Linked DNA regions of Homo sapiens: region 2 is linked to region 1. Evidence: promoter capture Hi-C in human tissues and cell types (Jung and others, 2019). All regions are on one chromosome and are shown on one strand. The core of a region is centred on a gene start or on the middle of the fragment in contact, and the rest is flanking DNA. Distances in the headings are between cores, read along the strand shown.

Region 1 (6,242 bases), core at 1,591-4,090:
ATGTTCCTGTATTAGTTTGCTGAGAATGATGGCTTCCAGCTTCATCCAGGTCCCTGGAAAGGACATGATATTCTTTTTTATGGCTACATAATATTCCATAGTGTATATGTGCCACATTTTCTCTATCCAGTCTATCATTGATGGGCATTTGGGTTGGTTCCAAGTCTTTGCTATTGTAAATAGTGCTGCAACAAACACGTGTGCATGTGTCTTTATAGTATAATTATTTATAATCCTCTGGGTTTATTTATTTATTTTTGAGACAGATTCTCGCTCTGTTGCCCAGGCTAGAGTTCAATGGTGCGATCTTGGCTCACTGCAACCTTTGCCTCCTGGGTTCAAGCTATTCTCCTGTCTCAGTCTCCCAAGTAGTTGGGATTACAGGTGCGCACCACCACGTCTGGCCAATTTTTTGTATTTTTAGTAGAGATGGGGTTTCACCATGTTGGCCAGGCTAGTCTTGAATTCCTGACCTCAAGTGATTTGCCTGCTTTGGCCTCCCAGAGTGCTGCGATTACAGGCTTGAGCCACCACGCCTGGCCAGTATTTTATATTATTTCATTTTCTCCTCTATTATATTTTTGCTTATATATTCTTTTAATGTCTCTATATTTAAAGGAAGATCTTAGAGAAGGCAACACCTAACCTAGAGGATAAGTACTGGTAGTGAACTTTCAGAGTATGGCTCCTGCAAAGGCTGGGGGGTGCATCCATCTGTTCAATAGCTCAGCACATCCTCAGAACATACAGCAAAAATAATATAACAATAATAATAATATAATAGCTAACCCTTATGTTGGCCCTTACAATATGCTAGGCACCACTCTAACCATTTCATGTATATGCCCTAAGCATTTTATATATGTTAACTCCTTTAACCATGAAGATGAACATACATAGATAAACATTGAAGCAGACCATTCTGTTCCATGCTTTGTGTCTCTCAGCCCCTCTTGCCCCTCTAAACCACTTGAACCCCGCTCCTCATTTCTTGGCTTCTCTGACACTCCCAAGGCAGGCTCTCCCCTTGCCCCAGACCCCAAACACATGCAGTCTGGCTAACTGGTGCAGCAGGTCCCCTAGTCCCCAGCCTCTTTCCTCCTGCCTTAGTATCTCTACTCTGACCTACACTGCTTGGTAGCTGCTTGAGGGAGATGGGCCTCAAAGGTGGACCACAGCTGCTCCATCCTCATCCTCAGCCACGGCCCACTATGCATATGCCTCCATCTCCCAAAAGGGTGCACCTCTCCATGCTCTAACCATCCTTGGCACAACGTGGATGCTCGACAACTCTTTGCTGAAGGAAGTCAAAAGGAAGAAATGGTCTTATCATTACATGAACTCAGAACACAAGTGAAGCCATTAGGGCTGAACAGGATTCTCTCGCCTTGGGAAAGGAGAAGAGGATGCCAGCCTCTGCTCAATCCCTAACATCCTGCCCTCCTCCCCGCCCTCACCTCCCACCCCCTACCCACCTACCCCCATCAAGACAGCCTGAGTTGGTCTTGGGGAGGGTAAGAGTGACAGTGACGGGTCCCTTTCCATCTGTAAGGACAAAGGCAAAACCCTGCCTCCCTTGGCATCCTCATCAGTCCGCACACAGGTGCCACAGAGGCTCCCCACTCCCTTGCTCAAGTCTCCTTTCTCTCACTTGCGCAGACACACACATACACACAGAGACACATGGGCACATACACACACACAGACACACGAGACAAACACAGACACACGCACACACAGACACACATAGAAACACACACAGATACACAGACACACACAAACACACAGGCACAGAGAAACACACACACAGACACACACAACGACATACACAGATCATACACAGGCACACAGACACACACAGATGCACACACAGACACACTGACATAGACACACACAGATATACAAAGACACACGGATACAGACACACACAGACACATGCAAACACACACACAGACCCAGAAATACACAGACACACACACACAGACACACGCAGACCATACACACACACAGAGACACACACACACAGACATAAAGATGCACGCAGACCATACATAGACACAGAGACAGACACACACTCAGACACAAAGAGACACAGACCTGCGCAGACACACACAGGCACATGCGTGCACACACAGATACACACAGAGACACACACAGATGCATACATGCACACATGCAGACCATACACACAGACAGACACAGACACAAAGACACACGCAGACCATACACAGACACAGACACACAGACACACACACACAGACATGCACAGACACACACAGAGACAGACACAGACATGCACGCACAAACACCCACATGGACGCATACGTGCACACACACAGACACACACAGGCCATACACACACACACAGAGACACGGAGACACACAGACACACACACAGATACACAGAGACACACAAAGACACAGACACACACTGAGACACACACAGACACACAGACACACAGAGACACAAATACAGACATACACAGATACACACACACACAGACATATGCAGGCACATCGACATACACACAGACACACAGAGAAACAGACACATGCAGACTATACACACACAGACACACACAGAAACACACAGAGGCAGACCACACACACACAGACACACACACACCACCGCATGATTGGGCATCACGGGCTTTCATGGAGTGAGGGGAGGCTGGGGTGGGGGTCTTCATCCTTTCTCTACCTTGCCCTCCTTCCCAACCTCCGCATACGTCTCCATCGCTCTCCTGGGCTTCAGCGTCCGGCCACTGCCCGCGTGCTCCCGCAGGTCGTCCCCGTAACTCGCCCGAGGAACTGACCGAGTGAGGATGCTCTCAGCTGACGGGGACGCTCTCCCCCGCCCGGCCAAGGAGTCGCCTGGAGTCGGGGGCGGTTCCCACCGCGTTTCCCTCAGCCACGCCTTTCGATTGGGTAGCGGGGCACCGCGCGTGACGCCATTGGCTGCATTGTCTGTCGTTCCTGTCCCAGGCCCCAGCTTTTAAGGGACACGCGGCACGGAGAGTGGGCCGGTGATAGGCGACAGTGTGGGAGCTGGGGTCAGAGTTCATAGGGTCGCAGAGGCCGCGTGCCGCGTCTCCCTCCAGTCCCCGGGGGACTGACCCCCACAACAACCCCGTGCCGCCGTTCCGGGCCCCTCCTTCCAACGGCCACGTGCGGCCTGCGCGTGCGCACTCGCCCAGTTTGGCGCCCACCAGGCAGTGGGGAAGGGGAAGGGGAAGGGGAAGAGGGTGAGGGTGGCAGGGTGGGGACAGGGAATGGGAAGCAGTGGTGGGGATGTGGGTGGTGGACCAGGGGCGAGGGCAGGGGACAATGTCTGTGGAGAAGGGGGGTCTGTTTAGGTTTCCGCTCTTGGACGGGAGGGAGCGGCGGGGTAAGCAGCCTAGGAGGACTAGGGAGCTCCACAAGTCCCGCGGCCAGGGCGCCCCAAGCGAGGCCGGGGTCCGCGAACGGTCGCCACTGGAGCGGGGCTGCAAGGGGGTGCCGATGCTGCGAGAGAAAACCTGGGGACCTTGGAACGGGCTCATGGTAATTGGGAAGAGAGTGGAGCTCCTGACTAGAAACACTCGAAAGCCGAAGCTGGAGTCTGAGTACTGGAGACTGGAAGATGTGGAAAAGACGGTCTTGAAAGGGAAGTCAGGCCCGAGTCAGGAAAGGATGGATGTGAAGCTGCTATACCGTGGAGCAAGTGCATCACAAGCTTCAGCAGATTTGGGGAAAGACAGCCCAAGGGGTATTTGGGGAAAGCAAGAGGTCAAACACGAAATAAAGGCTAAATCTAAGAGTGCAGGGATGACAGCAGGGCCTATGAAGGGGTCTGGGTTTGAAGAGAGGTTGAGGTCTGCTGGGGAGAAGGTAGGGACCAGTGGAGAGGACTTGAGATCCAATGGATATAAACTGGGACAGGATGAGAAGGGGTTGAGGTCTAGTGTAGACAAGATGAGATCAAGTGTAGAGAAGCTGAGGTCTACTAGTGAGAAGCTGGTGTGCAGGGGAGAGAAGCAGGGGTCCAGTGGAGTGAAGCTGAGGTCCAGTGGCAGAAAGCTGAGATCAAGTGGAGAGAATTTGAGATCAAGTAGAGAGAAGCTGAGATGGAGTGGAGAGAAGCTGGGAACTAGTGGAGAGAAGCTGGGAACCAGTGATGAGAAGCTGAGGTTGAGTGGAGAGATGCTGAGATCAATCAGAGAGAAGCTGAGGTTGAGTGGAGAGAAGCTGGGAACCAGTGATGAGAAGCTGAGGTTGAGTGGAGAGAAGCTGAGGTTGAGTGGAGAGAAGCTGAGATCAAGCAGAGAGAAGCTGAGGTTGAGTGGAGAGAAGCTGGGAACCAGTGATGAGAAGCTGAGGTTGAGTGGAGAGAAGCTAAGATCAAGCAGAGAGAAGCTGAGGTTGAGTGGAGAGAAGCTAAGATCAAGCAGAGAGAAGCTGAGATTGAGTGGAGAGAAGCTGGGAACAAGTGATGAGAAGCTGAGGTTGAGTGGAGAGAAGCTGAGATCAAGCAGAGAGAAGCTGGGAACCAGTGGAGAGAAGCTGAGATCAAGCAGAGAGAAGCTGAGGTTGAGTGGAGAGAAGCTGGGGTCAAGTGCGGAGAAGCTGAGATCTAGTGAGGAGAAGTTAGGGACCAGCGGGGAGAAATTGGAGGGTTCAAGAATGGGGAGCATAAATGAGAAGAACATTGAAAAAGTGGTAGAAGTTACTGGCGATGAAAGAGTGATGGCATTTACTCATGATGAGATGGAAATTCCTTTTGAAAGTGTCAAAGGGAGTGAGGAACTACAAGGGACTGAGAAAGGAGTGGGAGTTGAGGGGGGCATCTTGAGTGAAGTGAAAGATATCACTGATGAATCTGTTTCTATGGAAAAAAAAGATATTATAGGTGAAGGTACCAGTGAATGAGGCAGATGAAGGATTGACACCAAAGAAGGAAAGAGGCAGACAGGAGAAGTACTGAAAGTCAGAGGAGAAATTAGAGCCAGACAGAACATTATTGACACTGAAGGGGTAAAGTTGAGAAAGGAAAGGAGAGAGTCTGAGCCTAAAATAAAAGAGAGTGGAAGTGAGGAAAAGAGCTTCTGGGGCTGAAGGCGGAGGCCAGGATCAAAGGAAGCAAAGAGGAGTCTCTGGTTCAGAGGGAAGTGGGAACATATGGAGGAGAAAGAGAAGACTTGGTAATGTGTTGACAGAGGACACTTGGATATTGGGAGAAAAGGTGTGACTGGGAGCTCATAGGGAAATGTTTGAGAAAAGGATGGAGGATGGGCTAGAAGGATTTAGTCTGACACTAAATGGGGTCTATGAGATGGAGAATTGCAGCAGGATAAAGGGTAGATTTTGAGAGTTGTGGAAGAAGGTGCAGACTGAAGTGGGCAAAATTTCTGAAAGAGGAGCCTGAAGAATGAAGGGCTCCCAAGTGACAAAAGCAAGAGAGGAGATAAGAAAGAAGTGAGAAAAAACATAAGAAGCCACGTGCCATAATGGTGATTGTGTTTGTTGGTATGTCCTTCATTATTTCCTTTTCTTTTCTTTTCTTTTCTTTCTTTCTTTCTTTCTTTTTCTTTTTTCTTTTTTTTTTTTGAGACAGTCTTGCTCTGTTGCCCAGGTTGGAGTGTGCAGTGGCGCAATCTCGGCTCACTGCAACCTCTGCCTCCCAGGCTCAAGCGATTCTCCTGTCTCAGCCTCCCAAGTAGCTGGGATTACAGACATGTGCCACCATGCCTGGCTAATTCCCTCACTATCTTCTAACTTCCAAGTATTGCTATTTATAAGTCTTTTTGTTCTTTTCTTTTAATTCTATAGATAGTGTTTTTTTCTATGTAAATTACCTGTTTGCTACCACTCCCTAACTCAACCTGTATCCTCACCCCATTTTCTCTGGCCTTACTAGAGGATGTTAGACCTTGAATTATAGCTGTTATCTTTTTTTCTCCTTTTGCCCGTCTCTTTTTATTGTATTCTCTGGGCAATTTCATTAACTTTAAAACAATTGATGTATAGTAGATGTACGTATTTTGGGGGTACCTGTAATATTTTGATACATTCATATAATGTGTAAAGATCAAATCAGGGCAATTGGGATATCCATCATCTTAAATATTTATCTTTTCTTTATGCCAGGAACATTCGAATCATTCTCTTCTAGTGATTTTGAAATGTACAATAGATTATTGTTAACTACAGTCACCCTACTGATCTATAGAACACTGGGTCCCATTTCTTCCATCTAACTGTAC
Region 2 (6,655 bases), core at 4,136-6,635, 110 kb before region 1:
ATTGAAAGCTTACCCCAGGCCGGGCAGTGGCTGTAATTCCAGCACTTTGGGAGGCCGAGGTGGGCGGATTGCCTGAGGTCAGGAGTTGGAGACCAGCCTGGCCAACATGGTGAAACCCCATCTCCCACCTGGATTGAAACTCTATCTCTACTAAAAATACAAAAATTAGCCGGGCATGGTGGTGGGCACCTGTAATCCCAGCTACTCGGGAGGCTGAGGCTCTCCCTCTCCGGGTTCTCTTGAACCCGGGAGGTGGAGGTTGCAGTGAGCCGAGGCCACACCAGTGTACTCCAGCCTGGGCGAAAGAGTGAGACTCCATCTCAAAAAAATATATTTTTTTAATATAAAAAAAGTAAAAGATCTTACCCCAAACTTCTAGCAGTGCTCAAAAGCCTTGGAATCTTAAGTCCCCATGGGACGCCTGGTGCTGACCACTGAGGCTTGCAGTACAGGGATGTGGTGCTGAGCTGAGGCCCTGGAGACGGACCAACTGGGCTGGAGGCCTGGTCTCACTAGCTCTGTGACCAACTCCCCACTCTGCAAAACTGGAATCACGGGCCCAGCTCATAGGTTTGTTGCAAGGACTACATGAAACCCCAAACGATGACATCGGTAAATGTTATTATTACTAACACTAGCTGGCCGTTCTTTTGAGGCAGCAGAGCATCATGGCTAAGAGCATAGAGGAAGCGCTTGGGTGCAAATCCCAGCTCCTCCACTTGTCCCGTACCCTCTCGGTGCCTGTTTTCTCATAGGCAATGGGGAGGGGATGGTTATAATCGGATCTACTCCCAGGGTAGTGGTAAGGATTAAATCACTATGCAGATACAAACAGAACATCCTCATGGCTCATGGGAACTGCTATGTTAGCATTGCTGTTATTCTTATTATCTTTTTTTTTTCTTTTTGTGATGGAGTCTTGCTCTGTTGCCCAGGCTGGAGTGCAGTGATGTGATCTCGGCTCACTGCAACCTCTGCCTCCTGGGTTCAAGCGATTCTCCCACCTCAGCCTCCCGGGTAACTAGGATTACAGGCATGTGCCACCATGCCCGGCTAATTTTTTGTATTTTTAGTAGAGAGAGGGTTTCACCATGTTGGCCAGGCTGGTCTTGAACTCCTGACCTCAAGTGATCCACCCACCTTGGCCTCCCAAAGTGCTGGGATTACAGGTGTGAGCCACTGCACCGGGCCGTGTTGCTGTTATTAATTAATCAATGATGTGGCCCCAGGGAAGCAGACTATCCTGGAAGATGCCATAGAGGCAGGATTTTTCTCAGACTGTGGCCCTGTGGCTCCTCTTCTGCTCTCAGACTCCATCCCAGTGGCACCTCACAATGAGCACATCCAATGTAAATATCCTAAATAGTGCTGCTCCGGGTGAAGCTCTTTTGCCACCCAAAATATGCAAACTCTTTTCTTTCTAGGGGGCTGCCATCCTTCTCCCACACCTGGGGCCCAGTGGAAGGCACATGTAGGCAGCTTCACTTTCAGAAACGGAGCCCCTTCCAGACCTCAACCCCAGGTGATTTCCTGGACAGTCCAGAACTCTGGGCCACTTTCTTCCTTGGCAGAGGGCAGGTCTGGGTTTCTCAGGTTGATATTCTCATGAGGTGCATACAGACCTCTTTCCTTTACCACACTCCCTCCCTAAGTGAGCTCATCCAGTCTGATGGCCTTAAAAGCCACCTGCTGCTTGCTTTCTGAGACAGAGTCTCACTCTGTCACCCCGGCTGGAGTGCAGTAGTGCCATTACAGCTCACTGCAGCCTCAACCTCCCAGGCTCAAGTGATCCTCCCACCTCAGCCACCCGAGTAGCTGGGACTACAGGTACGCGCCACTATGCCCGGCTAATTTTTATATTTTTTGGTAGAGATGGGGTTTTGCCATGTTGTCCAGGCTGGTCTTGAACTCCTGGCCTGCCTCGGCCTCCCAAAGCATTGGGATTACAGGCATGAGCCACTGCGCCAGGCCAGCACCTGCTGTTTTCCACCCGTCCCCAGGTTTACGTATCTCAGCCTGACCTCTCCCATACTTAAATATCCAGTGGCCCATCTGACATCCCCACTTGGATAAATAAGCATTTCAACTTGACATGCTGAAGGTCAGACTACTGGCCTGCCTCATCCCAGTCAGGGGCATGTCTGAGATTCCTGTTGCTCAGGTCAACGCCCTGGCATGATCCTTGACTCTTTCGTTTGACTCACATTCTGCCCCTAATGCCTTAGCAAACCCTACCAGCTCCACCTTTGAAATACATGCAGAATCCAGCACTTCTCCAAACCAACACCCTCTCTCTTCTGGATCATTTCAGTAACGCTTAATCTCCGGCTTTTGCTTATTTATTTATTTTTTATTGACATGGGAGCTCACTATATTTCCCAGGCTGGCCTCGAACTCCTGGCCTCAAGCCATCCACCTGCCTCAGCCTCCCAAAGTGCTGGGATTATGGGCGTGAGCCACCACACCCAACCTCCCGGTTTTTGCTTTTGTCCTGATACCATTCTCTACTCAGCAACCAGTGTGATTCTGTGAAGAATAGAGCCCAGCTGGACGCAGTGGCTCACACCTGTAATCCCAGCACTTTAGGAGGCTGAGGCAGGCGGATGGCTTGAGGCCAGGAGTTCGAGGCCAGCCTGAGCAACATGGCAAACCCCTTCTCTACAAAAAATAATACTAAAATTAGCCAGGTGTGGTGGAGTATGCCTGTGATCTCAGCTACTAGAGAAGTTAAGGTAGGAGGACCACTTGAGCCCAGGAGGCAGAATGAGCCCTGATTGCACCACTGCACTCCAGCCTGGGTAACAGAGCAAGACCTTAACTAAAAAAAAAAAACAAAAAAAAAAAAACAGAGTCCATCACGCCTGTGATGGGTCCTGGGTCTCGCTGAGTAAAAGGCAAAGTCCTTACTGGCCCACTAGGTCCTGCATGTTTCACAGGTGTTTGCTCACAAGTGCCACCATGATCCCTTCTCACTCCGATCCAACCACACTCTCCCTTCGGTACGCCAGCCAGTCTGCCCTAAGGCCCTTTGCACCGACTGTTTCTTCTTCCTGAAATGCTCTCTCCCCAGAATCCACATGGCTTACTCCTTCAGGACCTCTAGGTTTCTGCTAAAATGACACCTGCCAAAGAAGCCCTCCCTGCCCAGATCCCCTAAGTCCCTAATAGGCACCACCATTTGCTCTGCTTCTCTTATCACCGCTTCACACACATTCATTCATTTGCTGATTGCCTGCTCAGCGATGTGGCTCCGGCCGTCCTCCCACTCTCTCCTGCATCAGCAATGTCTCATCTCTCTGGCATCATTTCCATCAGCACTACTGTTCCTTCTTTCTTGACTCACTTCCCCTTCTTCAACACTGCCCCATTTCTGTGTTCCCTTTGCAGCAAAGCCTTCTGAAAGAGTTTTCACTGGGCAAGGTCAATTTCCCCCTTGCCTTTCTTTCTTGAACCCACTCCAGGCAGGCTGTCACCCCCACCACCCTGTGAGCCTGCACCTGCCAAAATCACCGATGCCTTCCCTCCCACTAACATGAGGTCAGTGGCCAGCTCTTCCCCAGCTCCTCTGCCAGTTCCTCCTCCTCTTGCAGGAGAGGGACAGCTGCCCCGTCTGTCTTCTTTGTCCACAGCTACTCTGTTGCCCAGGCTGGAGTGCAGTGGTGAGATCTTGACTCACCACAACTTCCGCCTCCCAGGTTCAAGTGATTCTCCTGCCTCAACCTCCGAAGTAGCTGGGACTACAGGCGCAAACCACCATGCCTGGCTAATTTTTGTATTTTTAGTAGAGACGGGGTTTCGCTATGTTGGCCAGGCTGGTCTCGAACTCCTAACCTCGTGATCCGCCCGCCTCGGCCTCCAAAGTGCTGAGATTACAGGCATGAGCCACCACGCCCGGCCACAGCTCCTCTTTTACTGGACTCACCAGGACCATGGTTTTGTGTTTTTGGGTTTTTGGTTGTTTTTTTTTTTTTTTGAGACAAGGTCTCACTCTGTCACCTAGACTGACTGGAGTGCAGTTGCGTGATCATGGCTCACTGCAGCCTCGACCTCCTGGGCTCAAGTGACACTCCCGCCTCAGCCTCCTGAGCAGCTGGAACTAAAGGTGTGCACCACCATGCCCAGCTGATTTTTTGTATTTTTTGTAGAGACAACGTCTAGCCATGTTGCACAGGCTGGTCTTGAACCCCTGGGCTCAAGAGATCTTCCTGCTTCAGACTCCCAAAGTGCTGGGATTACAGGCATGACAGGCTCATTTTAAATAAAATCTATCAGACAATGAACCCCACTTTTATCTGTAGTCCAGACATCTCCCTCAAGCTCAGAAGGTGAGTCCTGCCTCCCAAACTCGAATGACCCAGTCCACTGCTCCATCTAGGTGTCTAACAGGCATCTCACATTCAACAACTCTGAAACTGACTCCCTGACCCTCCCCACAGCCCTCTCCATCTTGGCCTAGTGACTATGCTATCCTTCTAGTTTCTCGAACCAAAAGCCTAGGCTTTTCTCTCTCTGAAATGCTATGTCCTATCCAACAGTTGTTCCTGATTTCAAAGTGCATTCAGAATCTGAACGCTTACCACCAGCTATTTGGAGCATTCTCAACATCCGTTGTCTTCTACATAGACTTTCTGCTTCTTCATGGTCAATTCCCAACCCAGCAGCCTGGGCCATTTTTTTTTTTTTTGAGATGGAGTCTCTTGTTCTGTCGTCCAGGCTGGAGTGCAGTGGCGCAATCTCGGCTCACTGCAAGCTCCGCCTCCTGGGTTGACGCCATTCTCCTGCCTCAGCCTCCCGAGTAGCTGGGACTACAGGCGCCCGCCACCATGCCCGGCTAATTTTTTGTATTTTTAGTAGAGGCGGGGTTTCACTGTGTTAGCCAGGATGGTCTCGATCTCCTGACCTCATGATCCACCCGCCTCTGCCTCCCAAAGTGCTGGGATTACAGGCGTAAGCCACCGAGCCCGGCCAGCTTGGGCCATTTTTTAAAGACTTCTGCTTAAAACCTGCAATGGGAGCCTGGAGTAGTGGCTCACGCCTGTAATCCCAGCACTTTGAGAGTCTGAGGCAGGAGGATGGCTTGAGCACCGGAGTTTGAGACCAGCCCAAGCAACATGGATAAACCCTGTCTCTACTTAAAATACAAAAAAATTAGCCGGGCATGGAGGTGCATGCCTGTAGTCCCAGCTACTCGGGAGGCTGAGATGGGAGAATTGCTTGAACCCAGGGGGTGGAGGCTGCAGTGAGCCAAGATCACACCACTGCACTCCAGCCTGGGCAACAGAATGAGACTGTCTCAAAAAATAAAATAAAATAAAATAAAATAAAATGAAATACAATACAATAAAATAATAAATACATGTACAGATAGAAAACATCTTTATTGGTTCTTCAGATAATAGAAGTAATATATGCACACTGTCAAAAATTTAAATATGACCAGGTGCAGTGGCTCACAGCTGTAATCCCAGCACTTTGGGAGGCTGAGGCAGGTGGATCACCTGAGGTCAGGAGTTCGAGACCAGCCTGGTCAACATGATGAAACCCCGTCTCAGCTAAAAATACAAAAAAATTACCAGGGTGTGGTGGCAGGCGCCTGTAATCCCAGCTACTTTGGGAGGCTCAGGCAGGAGAATCGCTTGAATCAGGGAGGCAGAGGTTGCAGTGAGCCGAGATCGTACCACTGCACTCCAGCCTGGGCAACAAGAGTAAAACTCTGTCTAAAAAAAAATTAAATCTGTGCAGTAGAACTGCTGTTAACTTTTGGGTGTGTATTTGGCCCGTGTTTTTCCCCTGTGAGCACAAACAAATGTGGAACTGACACCCTGAGCAAGGCGGGGTGCAGCATTCGGACAGAGACAGCTGCATCCTTTTCCACCCACCCACTCCCCCTTGGGCCAAGCCGTTCCCAGGCCTGGATAAGACGTGAGCAGGCACTATGACTTCTCAAGTCACCTCAGGTAGTGAAAAGTCCTCTGATCACTAAGAACAGCCTCAGAAATTGAAATTGAAATGTCTAGTCTGGGCCGGGCGCGGTGGCTCACGCCTGTAATCCCAGCACTTTGGGAGGCTGAGGTGGGTGGATCACTTGAGGTCAGGAGTGTCCTGTCCTCACTGCAAGGGGGCCTGGCACCTGATTAGCAATGCAGGGCCCTGGGGCTATTGCTTTGTCCTTGGCCTCCGATGCAAAACCAAGACCTGAGCCAGTGTACCATTTGAATATCTTGTGATTTTAGAGATAGACGTGTGTGTGTGTGTGTGTGTGTGTGTGTGTGTGTGTGTGTATACAAACCTACATATACATATTTTTCAACAAAAATGAGATCATCCTGGTTTTGCCTACTAGAATGTTATATTCTTTCCATGTCAGGACATACAGAGCCACCCAGTCTTTACCATCATCACTGTTTGGCTGTCTGACCCACCTAATGTACATCACCTGTGTCCTTTTGTCAAACACCGGGACTGCTTCCGCTTGCGTCCTCACTCCAGACACTGCAGCTGCGGACATCCCTGGAAATGTGTCTTGAGATTTCTGCAAGGTAATGTTCTATAAGCAAACTAGCTAGCTCTAAGCCATTTAGATCTTGATGGTGCCTAATTATTCCCCCTAAAGGCTCAATCATTATAGATTTCCATCAACAGTATTTATACCCTC

Evidence for each region. Contacts are between HindIII fragments. The study calls those that stand out against the background at their distance.
Region 2: a fragment that was not itself captured here is called in contact with the fragment with the promoter of SNX32 in region 1 in 3 of the 25 tissues and cell types used here (bladder, lymphoblastoid cells and mesenchymal stem cells).

Annotation. Positions count from the first base shown.
Region 1 is chr11:65,830,561-65,836,802 of GRCh38, reverse strand. It overlaps SNX32 (sorting nexin 32), which reads right to left and starts at 2,840. Exons shown (of 13, transcript NM_152760.3): 1 at 2,702-2,840. The coding sequence starts at 2,737. LOC124902693 reads left to right here and starts at 3,004. Exons shown (of 7, transcript XM_047427980.1): 1 at 3,004-5,505. The coding sequence starts at 3,292. The coding sequence ends at 4,908. RefSeq lists an enhancer at 2,759-2,848 and silencers at 2,773-2,985, 3,159-3,288. The HindIII fragment of the contact is 13,089 bases long and covers 1-5,539 here.
Region 2 is chr11:65,938,192-65,944,846 of GRCh38, reverse strand. LOC105369350 (a long non-coding RNA gene) reads left to right here. Exons shown (of 3, transcript XR_950212.3): 2 at 6,368-6,539. Among named protein-coding and RNA genes, the nearest start is that of TSGA10IP, 4.0 kb to the left of the region's middle. RefSeq lists a silencer at 3,136-3,359 and an enhancer at 3,330-3,829. The HindIII fragment of the contact is 3,895 bases long and covers 3,438-6,655 here.